2 separate regions of the Homo sapiens genome follow, and region 2 is linked to region 1. Evidence: promoter capture Hi-C in human tissues and cell types (Jung and others, 2019). All regions are on one chromosome and are shown on one strand. Each heading gives the region's core, a stretch centred on a gene start or on the middle of the fragment in contact. The rest is flanking DNA. Distances are from core to core; before and after follow the strand shown.

Region 1 (3,235 bases), core at 42-2,541:
CTTCACTCTCTCTACCTGACGTTTAAATGTTAAATTTCTCAGGTCTCTAATCCTTGGTTCTCAACTCCTCATTCTGCACGCTCTCCCTTGGTGATTTCAACCCCACTCCTGGCTTCAATTACTATAAATCTGCCAAAATTTATACATCTAACCCCTACTGCCATTCTTAGCCCAGAACTGTTTATCTAAAGCATATCTCACATCTCAATTTCTCTCACAGGTACTTCAAGGTCAATTAGTACATAACTGAACTCTTAATCTTGCCCTGATATCCTGTTGCTCCTGACAGAAATGTGGTTCTGACTTGGACACAACCTTCTTTTTCAACATATCCCCAATCTGTCACCAACAGGCAACCTCATTATTTTTCAAATCTGTCCACAGTCCCTGAGCCCCACCTCCACTGCCACTACTGTAGGCTAATCCTTTGGGATGAAATTCAAAATCATTACTCAGCAGCCTGCATGATCTGTCCATCGCGCACCTCAGCAGCTCGGTTTGTGCCCACATCTCTCTTGTTCTCTAAGCAGGGTTTTGCGGTTTCTCAACCATTTCAACTTTGTTCTCACTTCAATTCTTTCTCTCCTGCTGTTCCCTGTTCCTGAAAAGCTACTTGTCCAGTCCTTTGCTTGGGTAGCTCTTTTCCATCTTCTAGGCTCGGAGGGGAAAAGGGCACTTCCTTAGGCAGCCTTTCCTAGCCCTGGGCTAGGTTAGCTTTCATTCGAGTGCTGTCATTCCATCTAATATTGGCACACTGTTAAATATAGCTGTGAGATGATCTGTTCAACTGTAAGCTCCTTGGGGTTTCGTGTCTGCCCTGTTTTCTAGGGTTTCCAGCTTGTAGCTGGGTGCCTGACTCATAATAGGTGTTCCATAAATGCTTGTTGAATGAAAGAATGATGATGGAGGTGGTATTCCAACTCGGGACTGCCTCAACGCCCGGCGCTGTCTCCTCTGCTACTCTGTTTCGGTGTTTTAGCAGAGGCAGATAGTGAGGGCGGCACAGTGCCCACGGCATGCCGCTGGACTAAGCGCTAAGCGGGCTTGGGATGATGCGCACGCGGGGGGTCTGAGCCAGCCAAGGGGCCGGGCGCCGCCTGGGGGCGCTGCGGCTGCTGCGGGACGCACCAGGCCTAGTCGCCCGCAGGCTCCGCCCGAGGAGCAGCCCAGCCACCCCAGGGCCCGGAGGACCAACCGCTTCGACCCGCGCCCGGGCGGCGGCAGTGTTGGCCGGCGAGGCGAGGAGGGCCGGGCCGCCACGGTGGGGCGAAAAGCCCTGAAAGTTCCTCTCAGTTCCTTCCGGTGCGCCTCCCGCTCGCCCTTGCGGAGGCCCTGAGGGCGGATTCAAGGCCCCGCGAGAAGCCATCTGAGGCGGCGACGACTGTTCTCAGCCCCACGGGAACGCCGCGGACGCAGCGTCCCTCTCCCGGACAAGAAAACAGCCATTCTAGAGTAGGTTCCTCCCCTTTCCTTGTTTTTTCCCCTTTCCCGTGCCCATGGCTGACGCGAGCTGCTTTTGGACGTGGGTCCCGGGCTTGACTGGACAGACGTGGGTTCTGTTTCTGAAAGGCGTAAAACCTCAGACTTGTCCTGCAACCTCCTGGTCTCCGTTTTTGCCTCTATAAAGTGGGCATAACAAGGTCTGACTCACTGACCTGGGGTCTCAGGTGTGGCGCCCAAACCAGCACTATCAGCATTTCCTGTAACTTTACTAAAACGCATATTTTCTGGCCCCACTACAGCTCATTGAATCAGAAACTCAGTGGTGGGATTCAGCGATTTGTATTTGAACAAGCCCCAGGTGATTTTGATACAAGCTAAATTTTGAGAACCACTATATAATAGAGACCAATCAGATGAAATAAATCAAACCATTATATAGTAAAGAACCTGGCTCAATAAATAGTAGTTGTGGTTATTATTATTTCAGGAATAGACAGGCATTCATTGGCACAGAAATTGAAGGTTAAGCAAATGCTTCTTTCCTTTTCTTTTTCTTTTTTTTTTCTTTTTTTGAAACAGTGTTTTTCACACTTGTTGCCCAGGCCACCGCAACCTCCGCCTCCTGGGTTCAGCCTCCTGTCTCAAGCCCCGCGAGTAGCTGAGATTACAGGCATGTACGACCACGTTTGGCTAATTTTGTATTTTTAGTAGAGACGGAGTTTCTCCATGTTTGTCAGGCTGTTCTCGAACTCCTGACATCAGTTGATCTGCCCGACTTGGCCTCCCAAAGTGCTGGGATTACACGCATGAGCCACTGCGCCCCACCCTTTTCTTTTCTTTCATGCAGGTCAGTATAGTCTTGCTTTAAAAAACTGAAAACAAAATAAATATCCATATGATTTGGATATTTATCCCCTCCAAATCTCATGTTAAAATAGATTCCCCAATGTTGGAGGTAGGGCTTGGTGCGAGGTGTTTGGATTATGGGGGTGGATCCCTCATGAATGGCTTGGTGCTTTCCTGGCAGAGTGAACTCTACCTCTGAGCTCATGAAAGATCTGGTTGTTTAAGAGTAGACACCTCCCCTTTCTCTCTATTGTTCCGTCTCTTACCATGTGACACACTGGCTCCCCTTCCCCTTCCGCCATGATTGTAAGCTTGGTCTCACAAGAAGCTGAGCAGATGCTGGTGCCATGCTTGTACAGCCTGCAGAATTGTGAGCCAAATAAACCTCTTTTCTTTATAAATTATGCAGTCTCAGGTATTCCTTTATAGCAACACAAACAGACTAACACGAACATATACAAAAGAATGCCTCTCCAACAACAAAATAGGTATGTAACAGTAGCTTCTCACAGATAAACTTAACGTTTCTTTTTGACATACATCTTCTTGTCTTTTGAATTCTTTGAAAAGCAGAACATGGTTAATGATAAAGGTTTTATAATTTTAATTATTTTAATTCAAATTTCAGTTTTCATATACTGCAGTTATTTTTAATTTGAAAACTATAATGGTTGACCATGAAAAATTAATCTTATGTAGGTGAAAGGTACAGATTTATTTCTAGACAAATCCAGTTTCATTGGCATGTCAGATTTTATTGATAATCTTTTCCTTCTTATTCATTGCAGAAGCTTCAAAAAGGACACACTAGATTTAATTAGAAATGTTAAGATTGCCCAAAAAAGGATTACCTAGATTTGAGCAAGTTCAGGATGAAGACACCTACCTGGAAAATTTAGCAATACAAAGAAATGCATCTGCTTTTTTTGAAAAATATGATCGGAGT
Region 2 (3,002 bases), core at 83-2,582, 1.2 Mb after region 1:
TCGGGAGGCTGAAGCAGGAGAATGGCATGAACCCGGGAGGTGGAGCTTGCAGTGAGCCGAGATCACGCCACTGCACTCTAGCCTGGGCGACAGAGTGAGACTCCATCTTAAAAAAAAAAAAAAGATCAAATGATCTGCAAATAGAGGTTGTTTCCCCTCTTCCTTTGCAATCCAGTTGTCTTTTTTTTTTTCTTGCCTAATTCCTTTGACTAGAACCTCCAGGACAATGTCATGTAAGTGGCAAGAGTGGACACCCTTGTATCTTTCCTAATTTTAATATGATGAGCTATGGGTTTTTGTAGATGCCTTTTAACAGATTGAAAAAATTCCCTTTTATTCCTAATTTGTTGAGTGCTTTTATAATTAAAGAATGTTGATTTTATCAAATGCTTTTTATGCATCTATTGAGATACTTGTTTGATTTTTGTCTTTCATCCTGTTGATATAGTATATTACATTAATTGATTTCAAATGTTAACCCAATCATTCCTGAAATAAAACCCACTTGGTCATGGGGTATAATCCTTCTTGTATGTCACTGGATTTTATTTGCTGGTATTTCATTGAGGATTTTTATGTTTCTATTTCTAAGTTTCACACTATTGATTTTTAAATCATTTAGAGAAGAAGAAATATGCAATTATATTGTATATTATAATTACCTAATTAGCTTTCTCACAAGGCAAGCCTGCTAGCAATGAATTCACTTGTTTATCTGGGAGTATCTTTATTTTGCCTTCATTTTTGAAAGACAGGCATGCTGGATATAAGATTCTTGATTGAATTTTTATTTTTTTATTTTTAGCACTTTAAATATGTCATTCCTTGCCTCCGGCCTCCATTGTTTATAATGGGAAGTCAGCTGGTTATCTTATTAGGATTCTCTTGCATGTGATAAGTTGTTTTCTCATAAAGCTTTCCAGAGTTTCTCTATCTTTGGCTTTTAATATTTTGATTACAATGTGTCTAGGTGTGGATTTCTTTGTATTTATCCTAATTGGAGTTTGTTGAGTTTATTGGACGTATAGATTAACATTTCTTCCAATAATTTTTCTTCTCCTCTCTCTGTCTTCTGTCATTCTAGTACTCTGAAGTGAGAACAAGCAAGATTAATGTGCTCTGAATTAGAGGTCACTATAGCTCTCTATTCTAAGTTTAAATTATTCCCAAAGTCTTGGTGCTTAGTCCCTCTGTCCGTGGCTTGCAACCCTGGCTGCATGTTAGAATCACCTGTGGAGCTCTAAAAAAATCCCAACCACAAACCAATTACAGTCAGCCCTTTGTATCTACTGGTTCTGTATCCACAGATTCAACCCACTTTGGATTAAAATATTTGGAAAAAATAGCAATACAACAATAAAAATAATACAAGTTAAAATAGTATGGTATAATTTTTATATAGCATTTATATTATATTGGGCATTGTAAGTAATTTACAGATGATTTAAAGTGTACAGGAGGATGTGTGCTGATTATATGCAAATACTATACCATCTTATGTAAGGAAATTGAGTATCTTCGGATTTTGGTATCCACACAGGGTATGGGGAGGTACATCCTGGAACCAATCCCCAGAAGACACCGAGGGACAGTAGTACTTCAGAACTTCTGAAGTGGTGCTCAGGGATTGGTAGTTTTTAAAGTTCCCCAGGTGATTCCAGTGTACAGCCACTTAAAGAACCACTACTAGAGGCAAATGTTGAAGACTCTTAGCTGTGACCAAGGGAGGATTAGAGAGGCTAGGAGCCAGGCAGGTCTTTACAGATTGTGCAAGGTTTTTTACTTTTGAAAATCTCATCTAAGGACTCTCCACCAAAGTTCCAGGATTAGACTAATAAATTTCTATACACATGTGCCGTTCTTCTATATTGTTTCTGCCATTACCTTATATCTCATTCTCTGCTTCTTTTGAACAAGTAATACCTTTCCATTAGACCACAATCTATAATTTCTAACACCATGATTTTCATTTCAAACCCAGCAAGGATCCCAGCAGAAATTTTGGCATACATGGGCACTCCCATTAAGTCATTGAGAATGATCTAAATATTCGTTCAGAGGGAATGAGACCTTCTTGAAGAGATCATATCTGCATCAAGAAAATTAAGGGTAGAGATGTATATATTAAATATTGACATATATGTTAGTATTATATATATAAATAGCCTTTATAAATCAAATAAAAACTGAATACCACAACTTAAATGGCCTATAGATACATATATATATATATATTTAATATATAGGCAAAATACAGAAGCATGAACAAATATGGAATGCTTACTATAATTTTAAAAAATTTAAATTCAAATATGAAGTATAATTTTTAAAGCTTTTAGATGGGCATAAATGAAAAAGATTGATAATATCCAGTCTAGTGAAGGTAAGGGAAAATGATTATCCTTATTCACAGCTGATGGGAGGGCCTCAGACCCTCCAACCTGTCCTCCATGCTACTACAAACTCTGTGGAAAGCATTCTCTTTTGTATTTATCAAAATTGTAACTCTATTCAACATTGATTCACCAAATCTTCTAAGAATTTATCCTAAGGAATAATAGACGTATGTGCAAGGATGTTTGTGTACAAGGAGCTTAGTTGATAATTAGGTGACGATGAGCAACATTAACTCCATTAAAAAGGATTTGGTCAAATAAATTATGGTACATCCAACAACAGAATCCTCATTCAAAAATTAGAAAGTAGATCTTTATATTTGAAAAAGTTTATAGAATATGATGATTGCATTTATTTAAAAATTACAAAGATACATGGTTATATAGACATTTAAATGCTCCAAATTGTTAGTTCACTTTCTCCGTATTACTCTGATGCTTTTACTATGTTCACATATAATCAGCAAAAGAGGAATAACAAGGGAATAGGTGATTCTAAGCCATTTATCCCTGGCCTAGCCCCTCAGATACCTATGTTAAAGCTAAAAGAGTTTTTCACTAACCTGCCATATGACTTTCTAGCACGAGCAGTTCCTTCTCATAAGA

The links. The method cuts DNA at HindIII sites, captures the fragments that hold promoters and counts their contacts. A contact is called where the count stands out against the background at its distance.
Region 2: a fragment that was not itself captured here is called in contact with the fragment with the promoter of ANKAR in region 1 in 1 of the 25 tissues and cell types used here (lymphoblastoid cells).

What each region holds. Positions count from the first base shown.
Region 1 is chr2:189,673,379-189,676,613 of GRCh38, forward strand. It overlaps ANKAR (ankyrin and armadillo repeat containing), which reads left to right and starts at 1,292. Exons shown (of 23, transcript NM_001378068.1): 1 at 1,292-1,452; 2 at 3,078-3,235. The coding sequence starts at 3,113. It overlaps LOC105373793 (a long non-coding RNA gene), which reads right to left and starts at 907. Exons shown (of 2, transcript XR_923692.3): 1 at 453-907; 2 at 1-15. RefSeq lists a silencer at 948-1,367 and an enhancer at 1,418-1,677. The HindIII fragment of the contact is 7,879 bases long and covers 1-2,840 here.
Region 2 is chr2:190,826,220-190,829,221 of GRCh38, forward strand. No RefSeq gene overlaps it. Among named protein-coding and RNA genes, the nearest start is that of GLS, 53 kb to the right of the region's middle. The HindIII fragment of the contact is 3,155 bases long and covers 1-2,910 here.